Linked DNA regions of Homo sapiens: region 2 is linked to region 1. Evidence: promoter capture Hi-C in 16 types of primary human blood cells and fetal thymus (Javierre and others, 2016). All regions are on one chromosome and are shown on one strand. The core of a region is centred on a gene start or on the middle of the fragment in contact, and the rest is flanking DNA. Distances in the headings are between cores, read along the strand shown. Region 1 holds the start of CLPSL2 (colipase like 2). Region 2 holds the start of TULP1 (TUB like protein 1).

Region 1 (5,534 bases), core at 1,175-3,674:
GCAAAGGAAGCCGGTGAAGCAGTACAAGGAAGTATCCATCCCCAGGCCTCCTCTCCAGTTCACAAATGGTCTGCGTGGATGGGTCGCTAGTCAGCCAAGGTAGCAGAACACACATATGAAGAGAGCTCAGACCGCGACTGCTGGAGCCCCCTTACTAGGTAATGATGGGAACCCCCTTACTAGGGCCAAAGCCCTCTGGCCGCCCGCAGCAGTGTAGATCAGTGGTAAGAACTTGGACCCAGGAGCTAGAATGCCCTGGATTTATATCTGACTCTGCCATTTAATCCTGTTCCTTGGGCAAGTAACTTTATCTTGAGCCTTCAGGTTCCTAGTCTGTAAAACAGGGCTAAGAGTTACGCAGCAGAAATGATAGTAGATGCTAAATATTCCAAGACTCCTTTGAATTTCCCAGCCTCCCTTGCAGAAGGTTAGAGGGTTGGGATCATGTGACTAGTTCCAGCAGGTGGTTTGTGAGTGGAGAAGGCAGGTCTTCCATGGAGACCTTGGATGCTAGTTTTTTTTTTTTTTTTTGAGACAGGGTCTCACTCTGTTGCCCATGCTGGAGTGCAGTGGCACGATCATAACTCACTGCAGCTTCAGCCTCCCGAGTAGCCAGGACTACATGCATGTGCCACCATGTCTGGCTAATTTCTTAAATTTTTTTTGTAGCAATGAGGTCTCACTATATTGCCCAGGGCTGGCCTTGAACTCCTGAGCTCACGAGATCCTCTCAGCCGGGCATGGTGACTCCCACTGGTAATCCCAGCACTTTGCGGAGGTTGCAGTGAGCCGAGATTGTGCCATTGCACTTCAGCCTGGGCAATAGCGTGAGACTCTGTCTCAAAAAAAAAAAAAAAAAAAAAAAAAAAAAAAACCAAAAAAACCCCCAAAACAACTGATCCTCTCTCCTTGGCCTCCCGAAGTGCTGTGAATACATGCATGAGCCACCATGCCCAGCCAGAGGCCAGTCTTATAGATGGCTACAGGATGGAAGAAGGGTATCTTGCCCCAAATCAGACTGTACATAAAGCATTATTGTGCCAAGCCACGAAATTCCAGGAGTTCTGTTGTTACAGCCAGTGTTAATTACTCTGTGACAGCTAGTGTTAATACAGGGAGGGCTCACGGAAATAATGGATACAAGGCCCTCTGAGTGCGGTGGGGGCTGTTATTCTTGGCTGTTATTCCCCACCAAGACAGGATTCCTCGGTTCATTTCTTAAGCGAAACTTCAAAAGCAGAAGCAGGCTGGGAGTGGTGGCTCACGTCTGTAATCCCACCACTTTGGGAGGCCGAGGCAGGAGAATCTCTTGAGCCCATGAGTTCAAGACCAGCCTGGACAACATAAGGACAACCTGTCTCTATAACAAATATTAACAATACAAAATTAAAAAAAAATAGAAATTAAAAAAAAGCAGAAGCAGGCAGGTGGGGTGAGGTGGAAGCTTCATCCATAGGGAAGTCCTGAGGAAGGCCTGCCTCCCCCGGTTCCAGGATTGCTCTGTGCAGCTCTAGCTCTCCCTTAACCCTCCTCCCTATTCTGAGTTTTCTTCTCTTCCCACTTCTCCATTTTGCCCCCACATCTTGACTTTCACACAATTCACAGACAAATCCTTAGACAATTAATAGAATGATTAAGACTGCAAGAGATTTAAGACTTAGAGACCATCTTGTCCCACCTCCTGGTTCTTACAGAAGAGGAGAATGGGGCCTGCAGCGGGTGTGAGCAGCCCAGAGGGTGGGGCTGGATTATCCCGAAGGTAAGGGGAGAATCTGGGGCTGCAAGGGCAGACAGAGAATCAACATCAGGAAGGAAGCTCTTTTTATTTCAGCATATATGTTTTGTGCCGTTTATAAAAATAAAGTTTTGAGGCCAGGTGCGGTGGCTCACACCTGTAATCCCAGCACTTTGGGAGGCTGAAGCAGGACCATCACTTGAGGCCAGGAGTTAGAGACCAGCCTGGGCGACATGGGGAGACCCCCGTCTCTACAGAAATTTTTAAAATTATCCCGGCGTGGTGGCGCACACCTGTAGTCCCAGCTACTCGGGAGGCTGAGGCAGGAGGATCACTTGAACCTGGGAGGCGGAGATGGCAGTGAGCCGAGATCACGCCACTGCACTGGGCGACAGTGCGAGACTCCGTCTGTAAAATAAATAAATACAATAAAATAGAGTTTTATCTTACAATAAAAATAGAGTTTTATCTTACAGTTTCAAGCTTCTACTTGGAAGTAACACGTATGGAGGCTCCCAGGGCCCCTACAGTCTGGAATCCCGCCCGTGCGAGCCTGAGCGCCTTTCCTCCCTCCTTCCCTTCCGCAGGCGTCCTCGCCCTCCACGTCCCTCCTCCGCCGGGGTGGCCTGGGGCGCCGGGTCACGTGGCCGGGGAAGAGGTTTTATCCCGCGGCCCCTCGGAACCCCGCCGCTGCTCTGCCGCCCAGGCCCATGGCCGCAGCCCTGGCGCTCGTGGCGGGGGTCCTGTCGGGGGCGGTGCTGCCCCTCTGGAGCGCGCTTCCGCAATATAAAAAGGTGAGCCGGGGAGCGCGCCCAGCCGGCCGCGACCGCAGGAGAGGGTGGCCCCGCCGCCGGGGCACTGGAGCCCGAAGGCGCCGGGCAGCCTGAAAGGGAGAGGTGGGTCCGGAACCACACCCAGGCGGGTAGCCTGGGGCATCCTCAGACGGACTTCAAAAGCCGCTTCACTTTCCCCTGGTGGCCTCAGAGGGGAGAGAAATTGGCCTATGACCAGCACCCTCGCTCCCTCCACCTCCCCCGCCCGTGCCCCTTCCGATGGCCTCAGTCCTGGGCTCGCTTCCCTCCCCAAACTGCTCACAGGCAAACCCACCCTGCATGCTCTGGTTTCTCCTCCTCTTCTTCCACCTCCTCTCACTGTCTAGTGATTCTTCCAGGCACGAGGGCTCTCCCCTTTTCTCCTCTTTCTCTCCCTCTTTTTCGAGCCCGCAGCCCCTTCATTCTCATCCCCCAACCCTGCCCCGCAAAATGGGACTTAAGAGTACACACCCCATGGGACTCATGGAGGTGAGGGGGGTCCAGGAAAGGAGAGGCCGAGGGAAAAGTGCTAATCCCCCTCTCCTCCTCTCTGCTGCCCTGGGTCCTGCTGAGGGGCCGGGGTGGGGCTGGGGGGGGAACCAGCCCCCCAAGGGGTGACAACCTCATGACTTCTCCTGGATCCCTGGGCTCTTTGGCAATGGTGGGAACCCTCCCCTACCCGCCCACACGACTCAGGGATTGCTCCCAGCCTGGCAGACATTCTGCCTGTCCCCACAGAAAATCACAGACAGGTGCTTCCACCACTCTGAGTGCTACAGTGGCTGCTGCCTCATGGACTTGGACTCCGGTGGAGCCTTCTGTGCCCCCAGGGCCAGAATAACCATGATCTGCTTGCCCCAGGTGAGGCCCTAGTATGGGGCAACTTCTGGCAAGTAGAGAAGCGGGCAGGGAGGTTAAAAAAAAAACACCTGGCCCCACCTGTTTTTTCACCTCTGTCTGGAGTGCCCTTCTTCTTCTCCACTTGGCAAACTCCTACTCATGGTGCAAAACAACTCCAGCCACCTCCTCTGAGAAGGCTTCCCTCCTTGGAGCTCCTGTACCCTGGGGTCAGACCCTCAGCAGACCATGTATCTCCCTAACTGGCCATGTCTTTTCTCTGCCTCTCCCAGTGGTTGGAACTCTTCAAGGGCAGGGATCGCATCATATTCATCTATGAAGCACCTACCCCCAGCTTAGTATCTGCACATAGTAGGTGCTCAATAAATGCTTATTGTTGTTTGTTTGTTTGTTTCGAGATGGAGTCTCGCTCTGTCACCCAGGCTAGAGTGCAATGGCATGATCTCGGCTCACTGCAACCTCTGCCTCCTGGGTTCAAGCGATTCTTGGGCCTCAGCCTCCCGAGTAGCTGGGATTACAGGGGTGCACCGCTATGCCTGGCTAATTTTCGTATCTTTGGTAGAGATGGGGTTTTGCCATGTTGGCCAAGCCGGTCTTGAACTCCTGACCTCAGGTGATCCACCTGGCTCGGCCTCCCAAGGTGCTGGGATTATAGGCATGAGCCACCGTGCCCGGCCAATAAATGCTTGTTGAATGAATGAATATCTCTTCTCTCACACCACTGAGGCAGGGTAAGTAGGAAATGACCTTCCCCTTACTAGTCCCCATCTCCCTGCCACAGTGACATGATTTCTTGAGAGGAGCATGGCACTGCAGTGGCAGGACCACAGCTTTGCAGTTGGACCTGAGTTTAAATCCTGACTTTTCCACACCCTATCTTTGTGACTTCAAGCAGGTCATCATGGCTCTCTGAGCCTTAGTTTCCTCATCTACAAGGAGAGGCTAAAGTACCTACCCCACCAGGCTGTTGGGAAGATTATGTGGTCCTGGCAAGGAGAGTGTGCAGTCCAGCATGGTTGTCACTCGCTTTTAGGAATGCAGGGAGCAGAATGCTCAGTACGCCCTGTTCCTGCCCACCTGGCCCTGGGCCCAAACCTTTCTAGGATGGATGGACCCAGCCTCTATGTCCCTGTGTGGGGAGTTGCCAATGCCCTAAGGAAGCAGCAGGGCCCCTACCATGGCCTGACCCTATAGCTGAAGTGGCTAGAGGGTTTTTATTTTTTTTATTTTTTGAGACAGAGTTTTGCTCTTGTTGCCCAGGCTGGAGTGCAATGGCGTGATCTTGGCCCACTGCAACCTCCACCTCCTGGGTTCAAGCAATTCCTCTGCCTCAGCCTCTGGAGTAGCTGGGATTACAGGCATGTGCTAATTTTTATATTATTAGTCCATGACCATGTTGGCCAGGCTAGTCTCAAACTCCTGACCTCAGGTGATCCACCCGCCTCGGCCTTCCAAAGCGCTGGGATTACAGGGGTGAGCCACCGCGCATGGCCTAAAGGGTCTTTTTATTATCACCACTTGATCTGCTCTATCTCATTTAGTCCTCACAACAACCCTATGAGGGGGGTTACTATTACTGTCCCCATTTGACAGATGAGGAAACCGAGCTGGAGAGGTTCATTGACTTGCTGAAGGTCACGCAGTTATAAGCTGTAGAGACAGCCCAGGTCTGTCTTACTCCAGGCCTGGTACTCTTGGTTCTGGTCCCCAAGAAGTTTAAGTCCCCATCCTTCCTGCATCCTGGTGACTCCCGATTCTCATACCCACTCCCTGCAGACCAAGGGAGCTACCAACATCATCTGCCCTTGCCGGATGGGCTTGACGTGCATATCCAAGGACTTGATGTGTTCCCGCCGGTGCCATATGATTTAGAGGAAGATGCAGGCTGGTCACTGCTCCCTTGGGGCCATAGGCCCTGGTTGCCACCAACTTGCTCCAAATCCAGCTCCTGAGACATTAAAGTCACTTCCTGTCCTTGGCCTCTGTCTGTACTTTCTGGGCGAGGGGACCTGGTGGAGATTGTACCAGTCCAGGGGGCAGGCAAAAGGGGAGACTGGAGGCATGAATGAGCTTCTAATGGGATTTGGCCCTGTCCGGAGGTCAGGGTAGAACTGCAGGAAGGGAATGGC
Region 2 (5,534 bases), core at 422-2,921, 260 kb before region 1:
GGAATCCTGTCCTGGGGAAATGCCCTCCCTCTCTCCTCCTGAGACCCTCCTCTCCTTACACGCTCGCCTTGCCTCCTTTCCCCATCTCCCTGCATCCACTGTGCTTCTCCCTGACCTTGTCTGTTTCTGACCTTGAGTCAGACCCATCTGGGCTACTTCTGGCTCCTAACTGCTGGTTAAGGCAAAAACCCTTAACGGCTCTATGACTCAGTTTCTCCATCTGTACAATGGTGGAGGGGGGGAACAAAGCACCCTCTCATAGTTGGTGCTTAGCACAATACCTGGCTCAAAGATAAGGCCAGAAAAGTGGGGGCTATTTGACTACAGTTGTTTTCTGCCTCTCTGGGCCGTTCCCGTCCAGCCAGCCCCTTCTCTCCTTAGCTCCACCGCCCCCTCACCCGCGTCCCTGGGGCCCTCTCTCACCGTCCTCCGCGTCTGGGGCACGGGCTACCAGAAAGGTTTCCCGGGGGTCGCGCTTCTTGGCCTCGGGGTCCCTGAGGAACCTGGCGTAGACCGTCTGCGGCGCCCGGGCCTGGGCTGGGTCTGGGGAAGGCTCCTCCCGCGGCCTCCCCGTCCGCCCAGCTGAGCCGAGATGCGGGGTTCAGACAGGGTCCCATCCGCGGGTCCGCGAGGCAGCGCCTCTACCCGCTACCCCCAAGCCTGGGCGCACCCCCTCGGGCTCCTCACCCTAGGGATCTCCCCTGGGCTTGGGTTTCCACTTTCAACACTTCTCCCCGGCTTCCATTCAGCTTCCCACCCCCTTCTACCCCAACGCCACCCCCTTCTACACCAACCCCAACCCCAACCCCAACCCCAATCCCTCCCCTCTCATCACTCCCCGCCCCCTCCTCCCCCACCCCGTTCCAGGGCTCGGCGACACCCGCGCCGGCCCTCAAGCCCCTCCCTTCCGCAGCCCACACCCTGGGGGTCCACCCGGGCTCTGCACCCCGCCCACCTCCGGGCTTCCGGGGCTTGGATCCCGTGGGGCAGGGGGATTCGGGGGCCTCCGTCCTCTTCTTCCTTAGCCTCTGTGCCGGGGCGGGTCGCTGCGGAACGGGGGTCAAGAGGAGGTCGAGGAAGGAAAGGGGGGCGCTGAGGCCCGCCCATCCCCCTCTAATCCCTTGAGCCGCCAGAAATAACCGCAGATTATCCGGGGGGAACTGCAGCCCCCTTCTTGGAGTGAGGCAGGATGACCCCTTCCATGCATCGTGGCCATATCCAATGCTCCAAAGTCCCTATTCCTTCCCTGGAAACCCCAAGTCCCCAAACAGCCCTTTCTCCCCCCAGATCTCCAGACATGCAACCCCCAGACCCTGCTAAGGGGGACCTGTCCCACCCCTAGACCCCCTACCCTGCGTGGGTTTACGCACAGCGGGGACATCTTTCTGCTTCCTTTCCAAGTGGGGTGGCATACCTGTTTGGGGCGCCGCGGGGCCTCCGGGCTCAGGCTTTCTTCTTCATGCCCACTGAGGGTAGCAAAGGGATCAGCCTGTCTCCCTTCCCCTTCCCTCCCCATCCCACCCACTCCCCATCCCTCCATCTAGGCCCCCCAGGGTTCAGGTGCCACGAACTGGGGGCCTTCCAGACCTGTCAGAGGCCCACACCTCTCGGAGGGTTTCATCCCGCAGAGGCATGGTGCCTTTGCCTATCGCACCCCTTTCTCTGCAGGTCTAGGAGCCTCCCTCCCGACTCCTGCTAATCTCGGCTCAACTTCACCCCCCTTCCCCCTGCTCAAGGAGTGGAGGCCTGGCCGCGCTGTGGGAGGTGCTACAGCCCACGACCCTCCCCTGCTAGGCCCAGGCCACTGGGGGAAGAATCTCAACTCCAGTTCTTCTCAGATCCCCAGCAGCCTGCAGGATGGCCACCAGCTCCACCTGCCCCGAGAAGCCCCCAGAAGCTTGGGGTGAGAGGGGCCGATTAGTCATTTGTCAATGGGATGTGGAAGAAAACATTAGACTGGATCCTGTATTTATCTTTATTTCTCACAAAAAATAAGAACTAGAGCCAGGTGCGGTGGTTTACACCTGTAATCCCAGCACTTTGGGAGGCTGAGACAGGTGGATCATTTGAGGTCAGGAGTTCGAGGCCAGCCTGGCCGGCACAGTGAAACCCAGTCTCTACTAAAAATTCAAAAATTAGCCGGGTGCGGTGGCTCACCCCTGTAATCCCAGCACTTTGGGAGGCCGAGGCAGACGGATCACAAGGTCAGGAGATCGAGACTATCCTGGCTAACATGGTGAAACCTCATCTCTACTAAAAATGCAAAAATTAGCCGGGCATGGCGGCAGGCACCTGTAGTCCCAGCTACTCAGGAGGCTGAGGCAGGAGAATGGCGTGTACCTGGGAGGCGGAGCTTGCAGTGAGCGGAAATCATGCCACTGCACTCCTGCCTGGGCAACAGAGTGAGACTCCGTCTCAAAATAAATAAATAAATAAATAAAAAATTAGCTGGGCATCGTGGTGGGCACCTGTAGTCCCAGCTACTGGGGAGGCTGAGGCAGGAGAAGCACTTGAACCTGGGAGGCGGAGGTTGCAGTGAGCCGAGATCTTGCCAATGCACTCCAGCCTGGCCAAAAAGAGCAAGACTACATCTCAGAAAAAAAAAAAAAAAAAAGAATATGTCTGTATTGGAGGTATACCCTTAACTCTTTTTCTTTTTTCACTGATAGGGGACATGCTTTTGTGGTATTGTTTTGTTTTGTTTTAGACAGAATTTTGCTCTTGTCACCCAGGCTGGAGTGCAGTGGCACGATCCTGGCTAATTACAGTAAATCCATATCAAATGGAACTTTCTAAAATACTATTTCTTCGGTTGCCACCTTTGTTCAAAAACATTCATTGGCTCCCTACTGCCTAAGGATTAAGTTTAAATGTGTTGGGTTGACATTCAAGGCTCTCCCTGATCTGGCCCCAGTCTGCCTTTCTAACCACAGGGTTATCCCAAGCCATACTCTTCATCCAGCCACAGAGGTTTCCTTACTGCCTTTACAGTTCTGTCCTCCATGCCTTTGCTCAGGCTGTTCCCTCCCGGAACGCCCTCCCTATTCCATGAAACCTATCCAACTCTAAACAGTCCTCAAGTCGCCACTTCGGAGAGGCCTCAGTCCTCAGTTGGCTCTGACCATATAATAATAATAGCATTTATTGTCCACCTACTGTGGCTTGCTCCCATTCTGACTCCACCCTCACAATAATATTTATGAGACAGACATTAACACCCTGATATTAGGGCAAGGAGCAGTGGCTTATGCCTGTAATCCCAGCACTTTGGGAGGATCACTTGAGCCCAGGAGCTCAAGACCAGGCTGAGCAACATAGTGAGACTTTGTCTCTACAAAAAATTTAAAAATTAGCTGAGCAATGTGGTACATGCCTGAGGTCCCAGCTACTTGGGAGGCTGAGGCAGGAGGATGACTTGAGCCCAGGAGGCAGAGGCTGCAGTGAGCTAAGACAGTGCCACAGCACTCCAGCCTGGGCAATGGAGTGAGACCCTGTCTCAAAAACAAAACCAAACAACCAAACAACCAAACGAAAACACCCTGATATTAAAGGTGAGGAAACTGACAGCTGAGTGTCAGTCAACAAGTATTTCCTGAGCACCTATTGTGTGCCAAGCGCTATGCTAAATAATGGTCATACAGAGATGAACAACATGATGTGGTCCCCGCCCTCGTGCAGCTTACATGCTTGTGAGAGAGACAGATAGTAGAGACATAAATACCCAAATTAGTGATAATGATCTCATTATTATTAGTTGTGAGAAATGCCAAGAAGGAAAGGAACTGGGCTCCACGAGACCAGCAGGTGGGTTCCAGTCTGGATTTAGAGTACAGGCAAGGCTGCCTGAGGAAGGAAGGTTTCGTTTTGTTTTGTTTTGTTTTTTGAGATGGAGTCTTGTTCTGTCACTCAGGCTGGAGTGCAATGGCACGATCTCAGCTCACTGCAACCTCTGCCTCCCAGGGTCAAGCAATTCTCCTGTCTCAGCCTCCTGAGTAGGTGGGATTACAGGCACCTGGCTATGTTTTGTATTTTTAGTAGACAAGGGGTTTCACCATGTTGGCCAGGCTGATCTCAAACTCCTGACCTCAAGTGGTCCGCCTGCCTTGGCCTCACAAAGTGCTGGGATTACAGGCATGAGCTACCATGCCCTGCCCTGAGGAAGGAATTTTTTTTTTTTTTTTTGACATGGAGTCTCACTCTTGTCACCCAGGCTGGAGTGCAGTGGTGCAATCTGAGCTCACTGCAACCTTCGCCTCCCAGATTCAAGCAATTCTCCCGCCTCAGCCTTCTGAGTAGCTGGGACTACAGGCACCCGCCACCACGCCTGGCTAATTTTTTTTTTTTTTTTTTTTTTGTAGTTTTGGTAGGGATGGGGTTTCACCATGTTGGCCAGGCTGGTCTCGAACTCCTGACTTCTAGTGATCCGCCCACCTCGGCCTCCCAAAGTGCTGGGATTACAGGCCTGAGCCACCGTGCCTGGCCAAGGAAGGCATTTTTAAACTGAAATCTGAAGGAATTTTTTTTTTTTTGAGACGGAGTTTTGCTCTTGTCTCCCAGGCTGGAGTGCAATGGCGTGATCTTGGCTCACTGCAACCTCTGCCTCCTGGGTTCAAGTGATTCTCTCCTGCCTCAGCCTCCCAAGTAGCTGGGATTACAAGCGTGTGCCACCATGCCTGGCTAATTTTTGTATTTTTAGTAGAGATGGTGTTTCACCACCTTGGCCAGGCTGGTCTCAAACTCCTGACCTCAGGTGATCCGCCTGCCTCAGCCTCCCAAAGTGTTGGGATTACAGGCATGAGCCACTGCACCCAGCCTGAAGGATCTTGAAGGCTAGAAAAGAGAATGTTCCAGGCACAAGGCACAGCATGTGCAAACTGTTTTCAGGCAGCAAAGAACTTGGCACACTGGAGCAGGACTGCCCCCTGGACCGGGACAAGAGTAGTCCTGCCTGCGACCTGCACTTCAGAGGGCTCCTGAGACTTGCAAATGCCAAACAGATACATTGCTAAGAACTGTCTCACAGTTGGGCAAGGTGGCTCACGCCTATAATCCCAGCACTTTGGGAGGCCGAGGTGGCCAGATCACTTGAGGTCAGGAGTTCGAGAGCAGCCTGGCCAACATGGTGAAACCCTGTCTCCACTAAAAATACAAAAATCAGCCAGGTGTGGTCGTGGGCACCTGTAATCCCAGCTATGCGGGAGGCTGAGACAGGAGAATCCTTGAATCCGGGAGGCGGAGGTTGCAGTGAGCCAAGATTGCGCCATTGCACTCCAGCCTGGGCAGCAAGAATGAAACTTCGTCTCAAAAAAAAAAAAAAAAAAAAAAAAAAAGAAAGAACTAAGAACTGTCTCACGAGGGGTCTGGGGCTCAGTGCTGACCTGGCAGGACTGTAAGAACATCCACCCTCTGACACAGCTCAGGCCCCAGGGACACTTCTCCAGTTTCTCACCTTCTGTCCTCAAAACTACAGGTAAAGCTGGGTGTGGTGGCGCATGCTGGTGCAGCTACTCAGGAGACTGAGGCAGGAGGATTGC

Evidence for each region. The method cuts DNA at HindIII sites, captures the fragments that hold promoters and counts their contacts. A CHiCAGO score of 5 or more calls a contact.
Region 2: a contact is called between the fragment with the promoter of TULP1 here and the fragment with the promoter of CLPSL2 in region 1, in 6 of 17 cell types (erythroblasts, neutrophils, endothelial precursors and 3 more). The highest score is 7.3, in erythroblasts.

The regions. Positions count from the first base shown.
Region 1 is chr6:35,774,174-35,779,707 of GRCh38, forward strand. CLPSL2 (colipase like 2) reads left to right here and starts at 2,425. Exons shown (of 3, transcript NM_207409.4): 1 at 2,425-2,529; 2 at 3,286-3,408; 3 at 5,182-5,379. The coding sequence starts at 2,446. The coding sequence ends at 5,277. It also overlaps the pseudogene CMPK1P1. RefSeq lists a silencer at 2,406-2,535. The HindIII fragment of the contact is 8,503 bases long and covers 2,217-5,534 here.
Region 2 is chr6:35,511,225-35,516,758 of GRCh38, forward strand. TULP1 (TUB like protein 1) reads right to left here and starts at 1,672. Exons shown (of 15, transcript NM_003322.6): 1 at 1,588-1,672; 2 at 1,415-1,466; 3 at 956-1,046; 4 at 424-582. The coding sequence starts at 1,634. The HindIII fragment of the contact is 3,090 bases long and covers 1-1,895 here.